Linked DNA regions of Homo sapiens: region 1 is linked to region 2. Evidence: promoter capture Hi-C in human tissues and cell types (Jung and others, 2019). All regions are on one chromosome and are shown on one strand. The core of a region is centred on a gene start or on the middle of the fragment in contact, and the rest is flanking DNA. Distances in the headings are between cores, read along the strand shown.

What was found. The method cuts DNA at HindIII sites, captures the fragments that hold promoters and counts their contacts. A contact is called where the count stands out against the background at its distance.
Region 1: a fragment that was not itself captured here is called in contact with the fragment with the promoter of GHR in region 2 in 1 of the 25 tissues and cell types used here (aorta).

What each region holds. Positions count from the first base shown.
Region 1 is chr5:42,463,222-42,468,590 of GRCh38, forward strand. The region is part of intron 1 of GHR (growth hormone receptor); the gene reads left to right. It also overlaps the pseudogene SERBP1P6 and the pseudogene LOC100419545. Among named protein-coding and RNA genes, the nearest start is that of GHR, 42 kb to the left of the region's middle. The HindIII fragment of the contact is 3,667 bases long and covers 1,262-4,928 here.
Region 2 is chr5:42,419,149-42,424,688 of GRCh38, forward strand. It overlaps GHR (growth hormone receptor), which reads left to right and starts at 4,291. Exons shown (of 10, transcript NM_000163.5): 1 at 4,291-4,807. RefSeq lists promoters at 3,574-4,659, 4,083-4,655, 4,265-4,365, 4,563-5,331, 4,984-5,331 and 1 more, cis regulatory regions at 3,574-4,082, 4,420-4,460 and an enhancer at 4,287-4,436. The HindIII fragment of the contact is 10,174 bases long and covers 2,223-5,540 here.

The sequences.
Region 1 (5,369 bases), core at 1,845-4,344, 43 kb after region 2:
TAGGTGAAAACTAATCATGTCCTGCTATAAATGTATATTGAGAGAGAAGCTGAATAGACAAGCTCCATGATTTAGTCAATGATACGACTTCAGGGAAAATGTTTTTATGCCTTGTTGGCCATATCTTTTAATACTTGCATTGAAAATAAAATTACATCCCAAGATTATGAGGGTTGTGAAATTTTATAATTAGATATTTAAGTCCTGAATTGATTAGCAGCAGTATAAACATAGACATGGATTTTGGGTTAAATCTGAGAACTATTTTTTTGTACTAAAATTTGCGTGCAGATGACAATGGGAAAATCAAATGTTTTCCTGGAAAATTTTCAAATGGGACAAATAGTCATCTTTCTGGAAATATGAAATAAAGGGAGTGGTAGTGGTTGGACTATAAACCTCTTTGAAGGCCTTTTAATCTTTAGCTGTAATTCATGTTTTATCACCATTGGATTTTCAAAACGGAAAATACCTTAGAAATAATTTAGTGGGCCGGGCGCGGTGGCTCACGCCTGTAATCCCAGCACTTTGGGAGGCCGAGGCGGGTGGATCACGAGGTCAGGAGATCGAGACCATCCCGGCTAAAACGGTGAAACCCCGTCTCTACTAAAAATACAAAAAATTAGCCGGGCGTAGTGGTGGGCGCCTGTAGTCCCAGCTACTTGGGAGGCTGAGGCAGGAGAATGGCGTGAACCCGAGAGGCGGAGCTTGCAGTGAGCCGAGATCCCGCCACTGCACTCCAGCCTGGGCGACAGAGCGAGACTCCGTCTCAAAAAAAAAAAAAAAAAAAAAAAAGAAAAAGAAATAATTTAGTGTTACCTTGTTGATATTACCAAAAAAAAAAAAAAAGTGCTCAGAGTCACATAACTTGATTCAGTCAGAGCTGGTACTAGATGCTCAGTCTTCTGACTTCTAATTTAGTTTGCTTTCATTATCTACTTACTACCTGCTGCTGACTCAGAGCTCCTCAGCTATCTGCAAGTGGATGTGTTTATTGAACATTTACGATGTACATGAACTGCTCTCAATGCGAAGCTCCCATGGTGAATGGGAGCTTACTTTCTGACTCAAAAATTAGTTTTCTCTCTTTGTGTTCTAAATGAAAGTGTCCTTTTGCTTTATCTGAAGCAGAAAGTTGTAAGTTTGTTTATTTTACTTTTGAAATTTTGGAGAATTGGCAGTGGGGTCATGCCATCAGAAACACATACATGCAATGCATGGATGCACGGTGTGAATGAGCTCTCTGGAAGATGGTAGATTATGGGAAAGAAGGAAGCTCAGAAAGAGAGTGGACCAAGTCAAGAGGAAAGAGAGAAGAAACAGGCAAGTGTGGAGCAGAGGAAAAGTAGGAGGGTCATGAATCCATTCTGCAGGTGTGTGCTGAGTGACTGGAAGAAGGAAAAGAACCAAGGAAGTCTCTGCCATGTTATCTTAGTTTTGTTAAGGGTATAAAGAGATTGAAGAGAGTTTAACTAGGCCATCTTTAACCCTAGGACATCCCTAGAGTCCCTGGCAGAACTAATAATCTAAATTATGAATGGCTGTGTGTGCACACACACAGGATGCACTTACTAATGTCTATCATTATGAGTATCTTCTGACTTCTCCACTACAAAGAAAGGAAGGGAATGTGACCCTCTTTCCAGGTTAGAAGTAACTAGGGCATAGTAACACAAATGGATGAATTAAACTGTTTAAATGGTGCACTGGAATATATTTATTTTGGGGCAAATCATGAAGAAATAAAAAAGGAAGAGATTCTCTTTTGAGAAAAAGTTTGTTTCCTATTGTCAATTGAGCAACTCTGTGAACATCTTAAAGATAAAGAATGATTATTCTGTAAAGTGCTGGGATTTCTGGTGCTGTGTGACAAAGTCCGGTTCCTTTTGTCTAAGTTAGTTATAATAATCTTTAATGAAAAGCAGAGGGGTCCCATGGTTTGGAACAAGTATCTGAGTCAAGAGTTGACAAGTAGAATAGCTGGGCGCAGAGGCTGCTGTCAAGTTGACAAAGCCAGAACAGTACATTTGGACAGAAAGAATTTGATTTTCTTATACTGAATGTGATGATCTTGAAGAACAGATTTTTTTTTTGCATGAAAATAAATCTTTATTTTCAGTTATTACCCACCAGTAAGAGAAAGTTAGGTTAAGGGTATAAAGGGATTGAAGAGGTTTCTACTTTTGCCCAGTCCTTATTTTGAATAGCCTTCCACTCATCCAAAGTCATCTCTTTTGGACCCTCCTCTTTTACCTCTTCAACTTCATTCTCCTTATTTTCAGTGTCTGCCACTGGATGATGTTCTTCACCTTCAGGTGTTTCCTCAGTCACATTTGATTGATCCAAGTCACTGCAATTATAAGATATTTGTTTCTGAATGTATTTGGGGGACTCTGTTAATTCATCTTTGACAATTCCCCAGTTGTGAGATCTGCTACCTCCACGTTACAGGTCCTCGTGCTTCAGGCCACTGTAATGTGAAAAAAAAGATCTATCACTTCCACTATACCTATCAAATTCACGTTTGCCACGAGAATCAAATCCATCTCCTTGGCCCATTTCACGTCCACTGCCCTCTCGACCTCTTCCAAGACCACCATGACCTTGAATAGGTCGGTCAATAATCAGTCTATCAACTGAAAATTCGCCTCCTTCACCCCTTTCATCAAGTGGCTTTTCAAGTCTTCGTTCACAAGGTGGTCTCCTTTCTGGTCTTCTATCAGTTATTTTCCCTTCACCGTGAAGTTGTTGAGCAGGTCTTCTTCCAACTTGTCTTATTCCTTCTTCTTTTTGTGTTTTTTATTTTTCCTCTAGGCAAGCTTTATTCTTTGATTCCTCTATCCAGGAAGGGGGCTGTTGGTTGCATCTTACCCAAATGGAATGCAATGGGAATTGGGAGCTTGAGTTGTGTGGAGGAGGAGTTGTCAATCTTAACAAATGACTATAGCTGGCGTGTGGTGTCCATCAATCCTTGAGGGCTTGGCCATGCACACTAGGGAATGGTCAGAACAGACTCAACAGAGGTCTCCAGAGCTTTACAATATCTACAATATCAAGGTTCAGGGGGTATAGACAGTAAGGAAAAAGGCCATTTCCTGTTTCTGTCCATTTTTGGTACAGTAGACAGTTAAGGTTTTTTCTTTTGACTAGCTTTTAAAAAATTACTTAGAAAATGGAAAGCTTATAAACATTCATAAGTGAATTGTTGAATTGCTACCCCAAGTGGTTTCCTTACCTAGTCACCACTTAACCAGAAATACTAGAATACACGGTTCAACCAGAATTCAACCAGGCAGATAACCTGCCTATTGCTCAAGCAATCATCAGAGTTTTTAAAAACAAAATTAAGCAAAAAAGACCTTTCCCCAAATACAATCATTACTTTGTATGACCCATTCCTAAGAAAGCTACATTCCATTTCAGAAAACATGACCACTTAAGGTACAGTTAAAACAAAGTCGTTGCCTTCAGGTGCTTACTTTCTGTTTTCTTTAAATTAACTGCTGAAATGTTTATCTTGTGTTTTGTGCTGCATTCCTGAAAACTGTAACTTTTAAGGACATAGGCCTCATCTTTATAAAGGAAGAAGAAAACAGCAAAGAGGTGTCTCATTTGGGAGGCAGAAGGTTATGACCAATGCTGGAAGTCTTCCTCTTCCTTACTTGTTGTTCAACAAGATGGGTTCTGTGGTGTCGCATGAGGTGTGAGTTGGAAATGAAAGCTGCACCACACTTCTTATATTCATAGGGCTTCTCCCCAGTGTGGGTTCTCTGGTGCACCGTGAGGCTCAACCTCTGTCTGAAGGCCTTCCCACACTCATTACACATGTAAGGTTTTTCTCCATTATGGATTCTCTGATGAATAAGTAGGTATGAGCTACATGTGAAGGCCTTCCCACATTCATTACACACAAAAGGAAGATCTCCACTGTGAATTCTCTGGTGGACAAAAAGGCAAGAGAGCTGACTGAAGGCTTGCCCACATTCACTGCAGTCATAAGGTTTCTCTGCAGTGTGAATTATCTGGTACATAATAAGGTGTGAAAAACAACTAAAGGTTTTCCCAAACTCACACTCATATGGCTTCTCACCAGTATGGCTTCGCTGATGTACAATAAGATTTGCAATCTGCGTAAAGGCTTTGCCAGAATCGTTACAGGCAGAGGGCTTCTCCCCAGTGTGGATCCTCTGGTGGACAATATGGTTTGAGCTCCCAGTAAATGTTTTCCGACACTCATTACATTTACAGCATTTTTCTGTAATGTGGAGTTTCTGGTGCCGAGCAAGTTGTGAGCTATAACTAAAGGCTTTCTCACATTTACTACGCCTAAAGGTTTTTTCTAAGGAGAGGTTTTTTTGATATACAGTCAGATTTGAACTCTGATTGAAGGCTTTCCCACATTTTGAGCAAACATAAGGTTTCTGTCCAGTGTGGATTCTCTGATGCACATCGAGCTTTGCACTCTGAATGAAGGCCTTCCCACACTCATGACATTCAAAAGGTTTCTCCCCGGTGTGGATTCTCTGATGCACAACGAGGTTTGCACTCTGACTAAATCCTTTCCCACACATGCTACAATGTAAAAGACTTTCGCCCAAGCTGGGTTTTCGGATTGTTAACAGTGTCAGAATTAAGGCTGTATTTTCCCACAGATTTCTTACATTTCTGGTCTTCCTCTTCTTTGAAGCTTTCAGGTAAGTGACAGTCATTCACTATGACTTATCTGAAATCTTTCCTTTCCCTCCTTATTCTCTGCCTCTTTAACATGTTTTCTTTTTCACAAGCCTCTCTTAACTCAGGTCCTTAAGGATCAGCTTTCTGGATTCTTCCTAATATGATGCGGGGGTTTTCAGCTTCCTCACGTATCTCAGTTTTTGGAACCAGTAACTGAAGGTTCTTGGTTTCAGCACCTTTTCTTCCTCTTCTGATCCATCAAGGCCTGTCTGACGAAACTCCCCTGGGGCCCAGACTTTGATGTTCTCAGAGTGCACTTGTTGGCTGGATGCCTGATCTGGGAAGTTTTCTTCTTCCTCCTCCTCCTTTTTCACCTTCACTGGGCGGCATGGGCCTAGGGCCATGGCTTCTCTCAATTCTGCAGTCATCTTCTCTGCTCAGCAGGGGAACGCCTATAGCTGGGAGCTGCCCAGCACAGGTCAAACCCCATCTAAGCTTTATGTTTCAAAAGCTTCTTCTTGAGTTTCCTCCCAGGGCCAAGATGAGTATTGCCTACGTGCGCAGCTGAGAGGCCCGACCAGAGTTCACTGGCTCTGCAGCAGGAGGCTGGGGGACCAGGACCTCAGCTCCTACTGGCACGAGAACAATGACCCTTATTCCTTCTTTCTTAAGCACCATGGACGGCTGCGTCTCCT
Region 2 (5,540 bases), core at 3,041-5,540:
TTTAAAAAAAATTCATTAAAGGGATAATATTTTATTAGAATCTTATTAATTTTACCAGTAAATATTGTATTAATCAGGGAGATATATATATATATATATGTCATATTCATGAGATATATATATATATATATATGTCATATTCATGAGATATATATACAGAGACTTATTTTGAGAAATTTGCTCACATAATTGTGAAAACTGAAAAGTCAAAAATCTACAGGGTAAATTGGTTACAGATTTAGGGAATAGTTGATATGCAGTTTGAATCCAAAGGCTGCCTGCTGACAGAATTTTCTCTTCTTTGGGATAGGTCAGTTTTTTTCTCTTAATGCCTTCAACTGATCGATTGAGGCCCACCTACATTATGTAGAGCAATATGATTTACTCAAAGTCTATTGATTTAAATGTTAATCTTACCATAAAAATGCCTTTGCCAAAAAAATCTAAAATAATATTTGACCAAATATCTGGGTACCATGGTCTAGCAAAATTGACACATAAAATTAACCATCTCAATGTGTCAACTTTGCTAGGGCATGGTACCCGGACATTTGGTCAAATATTATTCAAATAAATTTAGAATTTATCACAAATGTTTGATATCATAATTTGATTTACAAATATCAATCTAATACTTTATTTTACAGCTGAATGATCTCAGAGAGCAACCCCTTCCTTCTATAGGCCAAGAAATGGAGTCATTGTGAGATTAGTAACTAATTTACCCAAAATCACAGAGGACCCACACAGGATCCCAAGGCTCCTGACTAACAATCCTATGTTCTTCAACTACAAATGCTATAAAACAAAACAGCTATAAAATGCTACTTTAAGTGTTTTGGCCTCTTTTGTTTTGTTTTGAGAAGAAGCTTTGGCATTTTATAGTACAACAGAGTGACTAAAGCCATGCTCTAACCTCAGATAACTGTAGATTTAGGAAGTTTATACTGTGGTGTTTTATGGTTTGGGGAGATGGCGATCTGACCTAGATATCTGCACTTGAATATATATAATCAGAATTATTTTCTAATTGTTTCTATTGTCTTCAAGGCAGTTTATATTTTTTGCTAAGCCCTACTGGGGATGTATAAAAGACTGGGGAAGGGTGGGCCATAATAAGGTAAGGCCATAATAAGGTAAAATAGGTTGGACAAGATAAGTTAGCCAATATCTGAGTAAAGACTTCAAGGAACTGTAGGAGGAAGCAAATGAATATTTGTGGAAGTGTGTTTAAATCAGAGAGAAAAGCCAGCAAAAAGCCTTCAAGTTAGGAGTCTGCCTGGCCTGCTTAAGAAACAGCAGGGAGGCCGGTGTGCTGGGAGCAGAATGGATGACCCAGTGATGGGGAAATTCATGGGAGATGAGGTGTGGGGCAAAGGTACATAGCTCACGTAGGGTCTCATGGGCCATTTTGAATTTTATTCTGATTTGAATGGGGAACCATTGGAGGGTTTTGAGCTGAGGAATGACATGATATTAATTTTAAAAGGAATGACTATGGCAACTGAATTTATACTTTGGGTTGTTGTTGGTGTTGGTTGGGGATTAGGGGTGGGGTTTGTCAAAGCAAGCAGACCAGTTGAGTTGAGAGACTACTGCAGTAATCTGAGAAATTCTGGTGGTTCAGACCAGGTGTCTCTGGACCTCTCCAAGAAAATAGACAGAGTTTTGAATGTGGAATGTGATTGGCAGAGAAGAAGTAAGGATGATTTCAAAGGTTTGTGGCCTGGGTAACTGGCAGGAAGTAGTTGCCATCTACTGAGATGGAAATGTCACCCACTGTGATTGGAGTATGTTTAAGGAGAAAGAACCAGAGTTCAGATGTGGACATGTCAAGTTTCAGAGGTCTGTTAGACATCCAAATGGAGATACCCAGTTGTTAGCCTGGAGCTCTGTGGAGAGATCTGGGTTAGAGATATAAATCCAAGAGATACAACTTTTCATTCAATTTGATTATTTATTGGACGCTTTATAAACTCTGTAAATACTGGGCACTAACCTAGACATTGCAGGTACAGATATTAAGAATATATAGTTTCTCCCTCAGAAATCTCTTAATTAATGAGAAAAGCAGACATGTCAACAAAACTGCAATATTTAATAAAAGAAGATATAAAGGCCTATAAAGGTGCTGATACAGGGAGAATTAATTAATTCCACCCTGGGGAATAGTCAGGAAGACCTTCAGAGAGAAAGTAAACAATTGATTGGAACTTTAAGATTAAGAAGGATTTCTCTGGGTGGACAAAGTAGGATCTTCCAAGCAGAGTGGAAACCATGAGCAAATGCAGTTTCATTCTTCAGAAGGTAAATGTGCTCTGGCATGCCTTAACTTATAACAAATTAATCAACTCAATACCTGCTACATTTTCCCTCACAATTTGGAATATATAAAGAGGCACATACTACTATGGACCAATACCTGGTCATATATGAGATTGAAGGACCTTTACTTACGAGGCTTAAAAATAAAGACTGCCCTTCATGTCAGTTGCAGGTTTATATCTAGTTCTATAGTATTAACTGAGGTGTCTTTTCCTATGTTTTCTGTGCATGATGACTTTTTAAAAATCAAAGACAGAGCAGCAGCCAGAGTAGTCTAGTTTCATGGCACACAGAATGGAGGATATTGCTGAACCCAGATTTAAAAAAAAAAAGAAGTCAATTCTTATTTTTTTAAGTATGGCCCTGAGCTCATCTCAGAGCATAAACAATAGAATTTAGAATATCTTTTATGACTCCGTCTGGCACCTCCTAAACTAGATCAAGATTCTCTAGCTCAGGGAAGAAGGGCAAAGGATGAGAAGGCACAGAGAGGATATAAACAGAGAGGTTGGTAGTGCCAGGCTCTGAAGAAGGTCCAACTTGGAAGGTCATTTCAGACAGGCGTGGAGTCAGCATTTGAGGCCTGTCTGGTCTCTACTCCTGCCAGGACTACCCTGTCAGCCAGCTTGGCAGGTATGGACCACCCAGCAGGAGTTTTTCTTGACTGTGCCCTAATCTTTTACTTTCCCAAGTTTCTCTATATGGGTACCTCCCCTTTTAAAAGCTCCAGACACAGCCAAGCACCACTATTGCTCCAGCAAAGTATGAAGCCCCAGAAATCAATGGTTTGGGGAAGAGTCTTAGGGGAACTAAATGCCTCCTTATTTTTAGATGCCATAGAACAAGAGCAGTTCAGGATCAATAACCATCCCACCCCATGATAAAACACGCCCCTTCCAGAATCTTTCCTTTTTCGTTCATTCTAGGTGTCTGTCTGGAACAGCTGGGGTATTTGAGCCACAGCTGAGCTTCTGAAAGCATTCTAAGGAACAGTTTTTCACTTATCTGATTCCTTTGAAAATAGGGGTATCTTATGTGATATCTGCTATCCCAGAGTCTTTGGTCCTCTGTTCCTTCTCAAGTCTTGGCTCCCGTGTACTACTTCAAAGCCCTATAGATATTTTATTCTAAAGAAAAGAAACTTGGTTCCTTTAAGTTGTTTAAACATTTCTTTCTGGGTATAAACTTGGGTTTGTGTCTGGGAGCTCTGTTAAAAAAAAAAAGTCTTTAGTAAGCCAAAGCTGTTAGAAGCTTATAAGTAAGTGACATTACAATTGACCGTCAGTAAATAGTGGAAAGATTGCATGACTAGCTACTCCTTCAGATCTGAGACAACCTGGAGCTAGATTTTTGTACTCTCTACTCAGAAAAGCATATAGTGACTTGGGGTTTGATGCTGTACAAAAATGACATGCTTATGCACAACTTTAACTTTCTGCAACACTTTTACAACTTCTTGTGAATGAAGTAGGCAGGGCTCGCATTTGACAGATGAGCTATGTCCAGCGTGAGGCAGAGTTAAAACCCTTTTCCTGGCTCAGGAACTTCAGGCTGGGGCCTGTGTCTGCTCTCCCTGCATCCCTGTCCTCTAGCAGATACCTCTCTGCTAACATGCTGAGTGTCCTTGGTAAATTACTCATTCTCTCTGTCTCCGTCTTCTAACCTCCACAATAAAGTCCTTCGTAGTTTTAACTATCTTTTCACTGTGCCCCAGTGAGCAGGAGTTTGGAACTTGATTGTTGATGGAAAGGCAATATTTGGATGGCTAAACACGCTTTCCAAGGTATCTCGCTGATCTTCCTCTCATTCCTGGAGATAGCTAACCTTTTTGTAAGTGTTTCTTTGAGTCTGTGGACTGCACTTAACGCTCTTGTAGGTCCTGCTTTCATTTGGAACGGGCAGGCGGAGAGGAAGGAAGTGTATTGCAACTACCAATATTTTCCTCTAGGAGGAGCCGCGCAGCTCAGTTGAGAGTGACACGCACCAACTCCAGCTCCTCGCCGGGAAGACTTCATCCCAGCAACTCGGAATGCTTGGCCCGGGCGGCACTCGGCCTCTCCGCAGCAGTTCTCGAACTGGCCTCCTTGAACGTCCGCTTCGCCTTCGCTTCTGCAACCTGGATCTGGGGGACTGCGGGCCAGGCGCGGCGTGACCCCTGGTGAACGGTGGCCGCCTTTTCCCACCCCTGCCCTCCCATCCTCCCTTCCCGTTTCACCCCGCCCCCTCTCTCCTCCCCAAGCCTGACAGCCCGCGAGCTGCCAAGCAGGGCGCAGCCATGGGAAGAGGAGGAGGGCTAGGGAGCGGCGGCGGCGGCGGCAGCGGCAGCAGCAGCTGCTACAGTGGCGGTGGCGGCGGCGGCTGCTGCTGAGCCCGGGCGGCGGCGGGGACCCCGGGCTGGGGCCACGCGGGCCGGAGGCCCCGGCACCATTGGCCCCAGCGCAGACGCGAACCCGCGCTCTCTGATCAGAGGCGAAGCTCGGAGGTACTGGAGTGGGGCTCCGGGAGTCTGGCTTTATTTTCCTCCTGTTGTGCCAGGGGGCCTGAGGGTGAACCCTGGGACTCTAGTTGTTTATGAAAACGGGAGGATCTGTCTTATATATTTACACGGATAATTTTTTATTCCGGATGACTTGGCTGTGCTCCCCTCCTCCTTGCGAAGAAGTTGTTTTCTGCTGGTGGGTTGTTGTAACCCAATCTAGTGTGTGTGTGTGTGTGTGTGTGTGTGTGTGTGTGTGTGTGTGTGTGTCTGGAAGTTGGTGAGGGCGGCAGGGAGTTGCGGGCGACAGACGAACCATCACACTCTGGCGTCTGCTCTGGCCCGCGAGTAGTGTACGTGGAGGGGTTTACTCCGGAGACAGTTTTGTTAAAGTCATAAAAGTTTTGCTAGTGTGTTTCTGTTTGCCATCATCTGCCTGGCTGCGGCAGGAACTGCCGAGGCTGCTGCTGTTGCGCGGGGAAGAATCCCCGGCAGCGCGACTGGAGAGACTGGGGAGGTCGAGCTGTGCGCGTGGACACAGCGCGCAGAGCGCGCGGTCTTTTGCGCGTTTGTGCGGGCCGCAGCCGCACGTTGGCACCGATGGAACTGGGGTCAGTAGAGTGACAGCCACCAGTCCGCATGAACTGGGGTAAGTGGAAATTGTGGCGAGCCGACCTCCCCCAGCTTTTGACACACTAGTGGTTGTAAAATCAACCAGGCTTAAAGTTTTGACAGAACT